2 separate regions of the Homo sapiens genome follow, and region 2 is linked to region 1. Evidence: promoter capture Hi-C in 16 types of primary human blood cells and fetal thymus (Javierre and others, 2016). All regions are on one chromosome and are shown on one strand. The core of a region is centred on a gene start or on the middle of the fragment in contact, and the rest is flanking DNA. Distances in the headings are between cores, read along the strand shown. Region 1 holds the start of OAS1 (2'-5'-oligoadenylate synthetase 1). Region 2 holds the start of RASAL1 (RAS protein activator like 1).

The links. The method cuts DNA at HindIII sites, captures the fragments that hold promoters and counts their contacts. A CHiCAGO score of 5 or more calls a contact.
Region 2: a contact is called between the fragment with the promoter of RASAL1 here and the fragment with the promoter of OAS1 in region 1, in 8 of 17 cell types (total CD4 T cells, naive CD8 T cells, activated CD4 T cells and 5 more). The highest score is 8.4, in total CD4 T cells.

What each region holds. Positions count from the first base shown.
Region 1 is chr12:112,903,883-112,910,169 of GRCh38, reverse strand. OAS1 (2'-5'-oligoadenylate synthetase 1) reads right to left here and starts at 3,208. Exons shown (of 6, transcript NM_016816.4): 1 at 2,951-3,208; 2 at 1,346-1,634. The coding sequence starts at 3,130. RefSeq lists an enhancer at 2,928-3,367. The HindIII fragment of the contact is 17,002 bases long and covers 1-6,287 here.
Region 2 is chr12:113,131,933-113,138,219 of GRCh38, reverse strand. RASAL1 (RAS protein activator like 1) reads left to right here and starts at 2,459. Exons shown (of 21, transcript NM_001301202.2): 1 at 2,459-2,822. The coding sequence starts at 2,758. RefSeq lists a silencer at 2,333-2,472. The HindIII fragment of the contact is 4,772 bases long and covers 439-5,210 here.

The sequences.
Region 1 (6,287 bases), core at 1,959-4,458:
TCTTGAATTCCTGACTTCAAGTGATCCCCCCACTTTGGCCTCCCAAAGTGCTGAGATTACAGGCGTGAGCCACTGTGACCAGCCTTCTCCCTCTTGTCTTTTACAACCATTGTACTTCAGCCCCCAACACAGGAGATGGCACAAAGGAGAGAATCCAAAACTTTCTCATACCCTGGTGTCTTTGGAGAGTCAGCATTTTTTTTTTCATGGCTGCCCTAGGACTAAAGGAAACTGTGACAGTTCCTTTAATTAAGTCCTAATTACTTGATAATTAATCACTAATTACTGCTTAATGACCAACTATTAATTAGTAGCCACTAATCAGTAAGTTCAGTTTAATAGTAGCCGTTTGTGCGGTGTGTGACAGATGTCATCGCATTTCCCTCAAAAAATTAAAATCTAAACTATTCCGTGTCCCTCTGTGAGTTCACTGTGGTGTTTTGAGGTGCCTTCATATACAGCTGGGAAATTCATAGTTTTGACTGATTGACTGATTGATTGAGACAGGGTCTTGCTCTTGCTCTGTGCCTAGGATGGAGTGCAGTGGTACATTCGTGGCTCACTGACACCTCGAATCCTTGGCTGGCCTCATGTGATCGTTCAGTCTCAGCGTCCTGAATAACTGCGACCACAGGCATGTACCACCACACTTGGCTAATGTTTTAAAATTTTTAGTAGAGATGAGGTTTCACTTTGCTGCCCAGGCTGGTCTTGAACTCCTGGGCTCAAGCGACCCTCCTGCCTCAGCCTCCAAAAGTGTTGGAATTACAAGCATGAGCCACCACACTTGGCTGGAAGTTCCTATTTTTGAACACCTATTACTCATCAGAGCTGAATGTAGATGATCATTTATCACTTAAAATAATGATATGATACAGGTAGTGTGGTTTTACCAATTCTCCTGATGTGGCAAGGGAGCCTCTGAGAGGTTACACTTCCTGTCCAAATGTTCCTGCAAATTATAAATATCTATCTCCCAACGTGCTGCATACGTTTGATGAGATCTCATGTTGGGACAAAGATGAGAGTAACATGAACTTTAAGCCACATCTTTGCTGCCTGATTTTAGAAAGATAAAATTCACACATTTTGCCTTAAACAGAACCAGTAAGCCTTGCAGATGTTCTGTAAGAAATGTCTTTGTCCCCACATTATGCCAATTTGCTGTTTAATGTCTCTCCTGTGATAGATCATGACCGTATTCATTCTTGCCCCGGGACAGATCCTAAGATCTCCTCCCACCCTGCTTTAGAGAGATGCCCTGTTGGGGCAAAAAGCTCTCAAACTGTGGGAGATTTCTGCTCAGAAATGGGAAGAGGGAGAAAAAGAAGCTGGGAGCTCTCACCCAGGGCATCAAAGGCAGGCAGCACATCGAACTCCACCCCCTCCCCGAGCTGGAGCGAACTCAGTACGAAGCTGAGCGCACGGGGGTTGCCCCAGCGTGGAGCCTGGACCTCAAACTTCACGGAAAATGCTCTCTCTCTTTGACAGGCTTCCAGCTGTCTCCTAATTTCCTGGATGAACTCTCCCCGGCGATTTAACTGATCCTGAAAAGTGGTGAGAGGACTGAGGAAGACAACCAGGTCAGCGTCAGATCGGCCTCTGAGGGTGGTGCCCTTGCCTGAGGAGCCACCCTGAAAAAGACGACAAAAATAATAATTGATGCTTAGTGAGGCAAACCTCCCTAAATAAAATGACAGGAGCAATCACTAACATTATGGAGCACTAGCCACTGTTCTGAAGGCATTGCATGTCTTAAACTCCTATAATGCTCACAATGATGCTATGATTTGGATGCCATTATCATTAGTTCCCATTTTACAGATGGGAAAATGGATGCTCAGTGAGATAATATATCAGCCCCATCACCCAGCTAGTAGGTGGCAAATACAATTCAAACCTGGGGGCCTTCTTCCAGGATCTGTGTTCTTTTCCCATTGTCCTTTACGATGCCCAGGACTAGCTTATGCTGGGTGGTTCACACTTACTATTTTACTTAATCTACACGGCCCTATGAGGTATTGAGGGAAAGTAGAGGAAAAATCAGTTAGGTAAATGGTCAAGGCTGGGCCCTGGAGGAGCGGCCTGCCTGAAACTGGCGCAGGGAGTGGGACTTACCTAAAACAAATCCACAGTTATACATACAAGAGAAGCAGCGCTTTATGCTTGCCTAGAGATATACCCACAGCTGCATAAGGTAAGGGAAGTTGCACAGCTTTACTGATAAAAAGTTTCTCAAACAGTTACAGGGAGGAGAGTGGTTTCTTATAAAAGTTTTTTGCATTCAGCTGCAATCTGGCAATCCACTCAGACTTCCCTCTCCACAGTGGAGACAGCTTTCTTCTTTTGCTTACTGAACTTTTGCTCCAAGCTCACGTTTGTGTCCATGTTCCTTAATTTTCTTGGATGCAGGACAAAGAACCTTGGGTACTAATTCAGTGAGAAGCTGCTACATTAAGGTGCACTGGCAAGACTGCAACAGTATTGGGGATTATGGCTGAGGAAATTGGAACACAGAGTAGTTAAGTGACTTGCTCAAGGTCTTGCAGCCAGCAGGTGCTATTTGCTTTCAAAACATATGATTCTTCACTGCAGAAATGGTGAGCCCCTAGCCTGGCCACGAATTAGCAAACTGTTTACCAGAGCTGGGATTCAGTTCCCTATTTCTGAAATGGGCATCGCCCAGGACAGTGGTTCATAAACTTCAGCGGGAAGTAGGGGGGAGGGTCACTTGTTAATAATAGGGATGTAGGATTTCACCCCAGAATCTATTTTAACATGCTGTGTGGATAAATAAGAAACCACCATCCCAGAAGATCTCAGCTCTCTGTACTCACATTTGCACCCTGGGTTCTAGGTTTTTGCTTCTCTCTCTCTCTCTCTCTCATTCTCAATCTCAACTCTTGCACATTCAGCCACCCCTCCCCTGGCCAGGCAGGCCTGGACTCACCTTTACCACCTTGGACACACACACAGGGTAGGAGCTACCTCGGAAGCACCTTTCCTTCAGGAACCCACAGATGATGTCAATGGCATGGTTGATTTGCATGCGGAAACACGTGTCTGGCAAGAGATAGTCTTCAATGAACTTGTCCAGAGATTTGGCTGGGGTATTTCTGAGATCCATCATTGACAGGAGAGAGAGTGGCAACAGAACTGCCTCCCAGACCTGTTTGCTTTTATCTCTTCTGCTGACTGAGCTTGGACTGCTGTTGGTTTCGTTTCCTCAGAAGGGAGGAGCTGTCTTTGCACTTTCCTTTTGCAAATCAGACACTCCCCTGATCCCAGTGCTGAATTTCATCTGCTCACTCTTCTGCTTCCTGAAACTTACCCTTTGTCCTTTAGCCAGCAACAAGCAGCCCAGCCTTTCTCTGAACTCTGCTCTGGAAATGCATTTTAACCTCCAGCCAACATAAATCTTATTTAACAGATTTTGTGTTTCCTTCTTTATCTTTTTTTTGTTGTTGATGAAATCCTTTCACAGTTGTCTGTGGTATTTTCCAGCAATACATGCCCACTGCAAAAAGAAAAAAAGTCAGAAAAACCAGGAAGTGGAAAGATCATCTATGATTCTAACACTACAAAATTGCCTCTATAAACGTTTTGATATAGAGCTTTCCAGATTTTTTTCAAATGTTAACACACACACAAACACAGGTCTCTTTTCTTTTTGTTAAGAATGGTATTATACTATGCTTTTTTCCCTTTCAATTAGTAGATTTTTATTTTATTTTATTATTTTTTGGAGACAGGATCTTGCTTTGTTATCCAGGCTGGAGTGCAGGGGCATGATCATGACTCGTGCAACCTCAACTTCCTGGGTTCAAGGGATCCTCCTGCCCCAGCCTCCTGAATACCTGGGACTACAGGCATGCGTTACTGCACCCAGCTCATTTTTTATTTTTTGTAGAGACAAGGTCTTGCTATGTTGCCCAGGTTGGATTTTATTTCTCACAGCAGTTTTAGGCTTACAGAAATATTGAGCTGAATGTGCAGAGAGTTCCATAAGCTCTCTCTCCTGCCAATAAGTTCCTCTATTATTAACAGTACTGTGATACATTTGTTACAATTGATGAATTGATATTAATACATCATAATTAACAAAAGTCCATTTACATTAAGGTTTACATTAAGGTTCACTCTTGTGTCCTACAGTTCTATGGATTTTGCCAAACATAACATGTCATGTATCCACCATTACAGCACCATGCAGAATAGTTTTGAGATAGGAGGTGGGGCTTGACTCAGGGCCAGATTGAAGACTGGCTGGCATGAGCACCAGCACCATGAACAGTTTACTCATTCCCTGGCAATGACCCAGTTACCACCCTTCTTCTAGAAATTTCTGAATAACCTGCCCTTAATTTGCACGTATTTAAAAGTGGGTATGAATGTGACTATAGAAGTGCCCTGAGCTGCTGCTCTCCAGGCACTGCCTATGGGGTGGCCCTGCTCTGCAGGGACAGTCACAGAACTGTAACCCTGCTGCCTCAATAAACCTTTTTCTTCCTCCTCTAGCTCACCCTTGAATTCCTTCCTGGACGAAGCCAAGAGCCTTCCCGGACGGTGTCCCAGTTTTGGGGCTCCCCTGCCCTGCAAGAGTTTCACTACCTTAAAATCCCCTATGCCTCACCTGTTCATCCCTCTCTGAGTTAGATCTTTCTTCTCCTAATATATGCATTCAATGCTATAACTTTCCCTCTAAACACTACTTTCACTACATCCCACACTTTTTGATAGGCTGTTTTTTCATTTTAATTTAATTCAAAATATATTTATTTATTTTGTTGAGACAGGGTCTCACTCTGTTGCCCAGGCTGGGGTGCAGTGGCACAATCTTAGCTCACTGCAGCCTTGACCTCCTGGGCTCAGGTGATCCTCCCACCTCAGCCTCCCAAGTAGCTGGGACTACAGGTACATGCCACCATGCCTGGCTAATTTTTGTATTTTTTGTAGAGATGGGGTTTCTGCATGTGGCCCAGTCTGGTCTCGAACTCCTGGGCTCAAGCGATCCATCTGCCTCAGCCTCCCAAAGTGCTAGGATTATAGGCGTAAGCCACTGAGCCTGGCCCAAAATATTTTAAAATTTCTCTTGAGACTTCTTCCTTGCCCCATGTGTTATTTAGAGGTGTGTTCTTTAATCTCCATATATTTTGGAATTTTCCAGCTATCTTTCTTTTGTGGGTTTCTTTTTTAATTCCATTGTAGTAAAGGGCATGCTTTGCATAACATATCTCTGTTGAAATTTGTTAAAGTGTGTTTTCTAGCCCAGAACATAATATGTCTTGGTGAATGTTCTGTGTGAGTTTGAGAAGAATGTGTTTCCTGTTTTTGTTGGATGAAATATTTTGTAAATGCCAACTATCTTTCTTACAAACCCTTAACCTCTTAACCAGATTATTCATGAGTTGACACTCTCCACTCCTACTGTATAAGATGTTGACTTTGGCCTAAGACTAAATGTCACCATGAGGGTGGGGTGCTGTCTTTGCAATACTCACTTCATTTACTAGTTGAAGATTCTTGCTGCACTGTATGCAAAAAATTAGGCCAAGTATGATAAAGCAAACCAGTCATACCATTGTAGCAGGAAGAGCTGCAGACAAAAACCCCTCAGACACCGAGTTAAAGAAGGAAGGGGTTTATTCGGCCGGGAGCATGGGCAAGACCCCTGTCTCAAGAGCTGAGCTCCCCGAGTGAGCGATTCTTGTCCCTTTTAAGGGCTCACAACTCTAAGGGGGTCCATGTGAGAGGGTCGTGATGGATTGAGCAAGCAGGGGGTACATGACTGGGGGTTGCATACACCAGTAATTAGAACAGAACAGAATAGGACAGGGATCTTCACAGTGCCTTTTTTATGCAAATAACCTATTAGGTCAGGAGTCGATCTTTAACTACCAGGCCCAGGGTGTGGCACCAGGCTACCTGCTTGTGGATTTCATTTCTGCCTTTTAGTTTTTACATCTTCTTTCTTTGGAGGCAGAAATTAGGCATAAGACAATATGAGGGGTGGTCTCCTCCCTTACCATGATTCATCTTTAGTAAAAATGGGAAACTGGAGAAAGATTATGCTTCAAAAACTATAGTACACCTGTTGTTGCATTCTAGTCTTGCCTAATGTTTTTCAATTTTTATTATTTTCTATAGTTTGGACTGAATTCTAATTTTTCTTGGCTACAAGTCTCCAAAATAATATTTTAAATTTTTTCCTTCTTTTCCCCCCATTTTCCCTAATTTGGAATCACTGAAAACTAAGTTGTGCTTTTATAAAGCCCTGCAAACTGGAG
Region 2 (6,287 bases), core at 1,210-3,709, 230 kb before region 1:
GAACAACAGGAAATGGCCGGGCCATGTGCAAAGTTTGGGGACTGTGGCCATTGCCCCAGGCAAATTTTGGGGTCACCCTCCAGATATTGGACAGGTAACAGCGCTGGCTTGCTGGAGGCCCAGCTGGCACAGTCTATATCCTTGGTATTTCCCCGTGGGGAGCTGGGGAAGGGTGTTTGGGTATATGACTTCCTGCTTAGCTCTGGAAGATGGGCCAAGATGGCTGCGTGGCAGTTTGGCTGGCATCCCATGGGGGCTGGAGGAACAGGCCCCTTAGGTTCCATCATCAGGGGGTTCCAAAAGGGGTCCTGGGGGTCTGGAGGCCTGTCTGCGGTCTTTGCAGGCTCACAGAAGAAAAAGGCTCAAACAGTAGCTTCCACTAAATGTGTGTGGTGGGGGGCGGTGTGGGGCGGGGGGCAGGATTCCCGTCTTAAAGCTTCAGTTACATAGCAAATACCTTAAGTACCATTCCCCCCACCACCTTAGGTGGTATATTTTCTTTGGAGAGAATCTGGGGTAACTGATAAAGATCACAGTGGGCCAGGCATGGTGGCTCACGCCTATAATCCCAGCACTTTGGGAGGCTGAGGTGGGTGGATTGCTTGAGATCAGGAGTTCAAGACCAGCCTGGCCAACATGGTGATATAAAAATACAAACTATAAAAATCTACTAAAAATACAAAAATTAACCGGGCATAGTAGTGGGTGCCTGTAGTCCCAGCTACTCAGGAGGCTGAAGCAGGAGAATCACTTGAACCCAGGAGTGGAAGTTGCAGTGAGCCAAGATCGAGCCCTGCCCTCCAGCTGGGCAAAAAAAAAAAAAAAAATCACAGTGGGATGACTCCTTTGGGGCTATTACTGTTCTGGATCTAACCCTGGATTACCCCTCATGCCCCGCTGAGGATGTTGCAATACTTCTAAGCCTTGGAGCCTGTTCTGCTAGGTCCATTTCCCAGATGGGATTAACTGAGACCCCATCTCTGGTGGGTCAGAGACTCACCAGGCAGCCACCAGCTGGGGAAGGAATTCCAGGGCTCTGAGTTCCTCATCAGCCTGTCTGGGTTGCTGGGTGGGGAGTCAAGAAGGGAGACTGGGAAGCAGACCATTGGGCTGCTGACGGATCCAGGAAGGGCACTCCTGGTCTCACCGGTCTGGGCGTTGGCTCCCGCACTCAGTCTGCAGGGGCACTCCCATTGGTGCCTGGCCTTTCTAAGAGGTCTTGGGCAGGTCAACAATGAATTCACAGGGAGAAATAAGTGTGCGAACGGATCTGTTCTGGGACAGGCCCTGCCTGTCATATTATCTCATTTAAAATCAGAAAAATGTACAAACCTGGAGCCACTGGAGCAGAGAGAAAGGAAAGAAAATCTCTACCGGAGTGGAAGGGCATCCTGGAAGCCTTCCCAGGAGAGGTGACGCGTGGCCCACGCCTCAAAGGACAACAATCAGAATATCAAACACTTTCTGGACGTGTATTAGGTACTTGTCACTGTCCTGAGACTTTTATCTTCATTAACTCTTTTAATTCTTTCAAAATCCTGTGACTGAAATGCAATGTCATCCTCACTCAACAGATGAGAAAACCAAACCAAAGCACAGAGAGGTTGAATGGCTTACCCAAGTCCAGACAGCTACCAAATGGCAGAGCCAGGATTCGAACCCCTGGAAGGCAAATCAGTTACTGACTGTGAGACCTCTGCCAAGTTATTTAATCCCTCTGAACCTCAGTTTCTTTATCCATAAACTGCGGATAATGGGGTAACAGTGGAGTAGTGTGTAGTGCACATCTGGAGACAAAAATGAGCTAATCCCAGTAAAGCGCTTAGAACAGTGCCTGGCACCCATGAAGTGTTCAAACAACTGTAGATGACTTTTTATCATCGCTGTAGTGGTTATCTTCAAGCCTTCCCCTCCCCCATCTGGCCGCGGCTTCCTCCCCCGCAGTGCCAGCCCGTGACGTTAGAGCAGAGTCTGGGTTCTGTGTTTAACTGGAAACTAGAACGAGATGGAAGGGGATGTTCAAGGCCCCTCCCTTGACTCTGAACGGACCCCCAGGGAACATGCGACCCTCTCTCTGGCGACGCCTCCCACCCACCACTAATACTTGCTCCTGGACCGGGGGGCGCGGAGGTTGGAGAGAGGAGGCAGGTGTCTGCATGGTAGGCAAGGAGGGGTGGGGGCGGAGAGGTGTGAATATGTTGGATGAGGGACAGGCGGGGGCACAGACCATGTCTTTTAAGCCCAATGCCAACTCACCAGGAGCCAGCGGCCACGCCCATCAGGACGGGGGCCCCTCCCCACCTGGCGGTGCACCCTTGTCTCCGCCGCCCGTGCGCTCTGGCGCGCATGACTGGGGTGCCGGTAGAGGGCGCGCGAGGGGGCCCGGGGTCAGGTGGGGGACCCCATTGGAGGCGGGATTGTGGGGAGGTCCCTGGGCCGCCCCTCCCGCCCCCTGCCCGCCCAGCCTGCTTGTCTGGAGCTCCAGACGCCTCGGCAAGAGCCCGCTGCGCCCCCTGCGCGCTCCTCCTGCTCGGAGCACGGCTCCTACCTGTAGAGTCCGGACGGGCGCTCCCTCCCCGGGCACCTACACCTTCTCCTCTTTCGGAAATCTCCCATCCAGCTACCCGGGTCTCGGACAGGCGGCACTGGGACCACGAGGCAGGGAGCCAGGCTTGAAGCAGGTGACATGTAGACGTCCCCTGGTCCAGCCTCGGAACCTGAGCGCCCTTCTGCCTGGAAAGTTTGTGGCTAGGCGCCATGGCCAAGAGCAGCTCCCTGAATGTTCGCGTGGTGGAGGGCCGCGCGCTGCCTGCCAAGGACGTGTGAGTACTCCTCGGGCGCTTCTGGGTGAGGGGCGCGCAAGGCCTGGGGTGGGGCCGACGTCGCCCTTTCCGCGTGCCAGGGCGGGTTGGCAGGAGGGCGAGGGGTTCTTGTCCAAGACTGGTCTTGGGGCAGTTCCGCTTTAAAGGGGCGAGAGGCCGCATGCCCATGGCTGTCCCGGTGGGAGGGGGGCGCCTAGAGTTAGCAGATGCCCCGCCTCACCCCCGGGCAGGGGAGGGGGTGTCTTTGTTCCCGGGATGTACTAAAGGGGGTCGTCCAGAGCTGAAGAGGGGATTAGAGGGCCATATTCTGTCAGATCTGGGAGGGGAGAAAGCGGGGGGTCTCTTCCTTAGTCCAGGCAGATGTTGGAGGTGGCTCCTCCAGGCGTGGGTGGGGGCCTAGCAAGGGAACCCTGGGGAGGACCCTTGGAGAGGGCCTGGGATCAGATGAGCCCTAACATCCTGTGTGGATCTGGTGCTTAGGTTTGCAGAGTGTCACCAGGTGGCCCTCCAGGGTCCTTTTGACCCCAAGCCCTGAGCTCCCCAGTCTTGTGGCTCCCAGCCTCGTGTGGGCCTTCCCCGGGTGCTGAGCTGCTTGAAGAGCCAATTCCTTGCTGCGACCCCCTCCCCAGCCAGGTGCAATGGGACTGGGGGACCCTACGGCTCCCTTCACTACTAGTCCCAAGCTATGCTTCCCCCAGGGCTGAGTCAGCAGCTGCTGAATCAGCAGAATATGGGGGGCGGGTTCCCCCTCCTGCTTGGCATAGTGCCCAGAAGGGGCTCTGAGGGCCTTAGCACCTGCGACAGGTGTGGGATCCTCTGGAGGACATTTGTTGTGTGACCTTGAACCTGCTTCTCTCTGGGCCTTGGTTTCCCATTTGGGCAATGAGAGCTCTGGACCGGAGTCCCCATCTGGTTGCCTGGGGTCTCCCATCCAGCTGGGAGGGTGGAGGACCTGTTAGGAGTTCCCCTGTGGCCCAGGTGAGCAGGAGCATGGATTGGGAGCCTTCACCTGTGTCAAGATTCAGTCTTAGCTCTGTGCTGATTCCCCAAGGTGTGGGCTCCCAGAGAGGACTTTCCTGCCTGATTTTATGACATTCCCAACCCCCAAAACACTGCAGCTGCGTCAAGGGGGCAGCTGTTGAGAGCAATTTTTGCCACCCTTCATCCTCATTGGCTACTCCAAATATACACACCCTGAATGAGAAGCAGAGTGTGTGCTCTGACAGTTCAGTGGCTGGACAAGCCCCCCCACCAGACTCTTTCTAAGATGTCCCCTCAGAGGCCCTGGGAATGAGACGGCCTACACTGTTAGGGCATTGAGGCCAGGCTGGATGCCTGGCAGCTGCTAGGTGGTGAAAGGAGTTCTTTCCAGAAACGGGGTTCTCACTCACTGAGCTCTGGCCCCTCCACCAGCCCTGGGTGAGAGGTCATGAGGGGGCGATGGGTGTCACCCCTGCACCTGGACACTGGCTTACGGTAACCTGCTGCTCTTCTGGAGAAGGGACTTGAGTCATGCCTGGTTCCTGCAGCTCTTGGCCAAACTTCCTGCCCCCAATTCCTGGGCCAGTGAGCTATGAAATAGGTCATGCCCTAGAGCAAGGGTGGGGAGGAGTCACTTAGCCCCAGCTGGCAGGGGGGGTTCTGGCCACCCTGCCTCAGTTTCCCTAGCTGTCAGCACCCTTCTTCAAAGGGGCTCTTCCTGGAGGCTGCTGGGAGCTCCATGCCATGGGAGCCCTTAGGTGGGGTGTGTTCTTTCCCTCTTCTCCTAAGGGAAAGGGCCCAGATTCTGCCTAAAGCATTGCCAGGTTTGAGGGGGGTCCATTCTGGCCCGGGAGGAGGCCTCTTCAGGTAATTTTAGAGTTTTTACTATTAGAAATAGTAGCAGTCAGTCACTGAGGGCTTAGTATGGACAGGCCCTGTGCTTAACACTTCATATAGTTCTATTGGCGTCTCTTATTTTACAAATGGGGAAACTGAGGACCAGAGAGGCAGTCACTTGCCTAAGGTCACCCAGCTGCGATTTGAACTCTGACTACTCCATGCCCAAACCAGACTGGGCAGGCAATGGCTGAGGGGCCTGCTTTCCCAAGACTGAGCTGAGTCAGGGGCCGTGGGAGAGGCCACAAGTCTGGAGAGATCAGGGGTCTGGAAGCAGCCACCCCCTCTTGCCACCGTTGCCCTCCCTGATAGGAGTCTGATAAGGCCCTCATGCGTCAGAGCCCTGCAGCTGACTAGTGCTGAGCTCGGCTCCCAGGAGGGCCTGGAGGTCAGGCTGGGTCTGCAGGAGGGGGTGTGTCTCCCAGCCCTCGGCTAGTGGGATCCCAGCCCATCTGACCCCACATCTGTAGTTGGGGAAACTGAGGGGTGGGAGCCTGCATAAAGGAAGCTTAGGGGTGGAGAACCCAGGGAAGGAAACTGAGACACAGGACATTACCAGCCACAGGAGTCTGAAGGTGAAGCCCAGATGGGGAAACTGAGGCTCCAATGGATTTGGGATGGAGCCAGAAGAGGAAACTGAGGCTTGGGGCACTCCACAGAAGGGGATTCAGATGTAGGATCCACAGAGGATCACGAAGACACTGTCTGTCTAAAGTGTTCAGGGATAGAAGCCAGGTAGGGAAATGGAGGCATTGGAGTGTCCAGCCAGAGGGGGATGAGGGAAGGAGTCCAGAGAGGGAAACCGAGGCACAGGGAAGGGCTCATCCAGCAAGATAGGTTCAGGTTGGAGGCAACTCTTAGCGCCAATGTCCCTCTTTCCTGGCATCCCAGAGGCATTTGTGGATCTATACAAACTGGAGAGACAGAAGGTGGCAGAGATCAAGGGAGTGGTGCTGGGGCATCGAGGGAGAGGGCCATTTGAATAGGTAGAGGGGGCATTGGTTTCAGAACATGAGTGTGAGCCCACAAACCTGGGTCCCAGTCCTATCTCCACTGTTACTCCGTGCTCCAGAGAGAGCACTCCATAAACCCAGTCATTCAGAAATAGCTCTAGAGGGCCAAATGCATGCCAGATGTGGGGGCCAGGGGTGGGGAAGTGGGGGACACAGACTCTCCCCAGGGAGTTCACAGTTTGGAAGTGGCAGGGAGGTGGGGAGACAATACTAAACGCATAGAGAAATAAGGGAGGCCGGCTGTGGTGGCTCACGCCTGTAATCCCAACACTTTGGGAGGCCGAGGCGGGTGGATTACTGGAGGCCAGGAGTTGGAGTCCAGCCTGGCCAGCATGGTGAAACCCTGTCTCTACTAAAAATGCAAAAAATTAGCCAGGTGTGGTGGTGTGTGCCTGTAATCCCAGCTACTCAGGAGGCTGAGGCAGGAGAATCGCTTGAACTTGGGAGGCAGAGATTGCAGTGAACCAAGATCGCGCCACTGCACTCCAGCCTGGGTGATACGGTGAGACTCTGTCTCAAAAAAAAAAAAAAAAAAAAAGAAGAAGAAGAAGAAGAAAGAAGATGATTTTAGGTG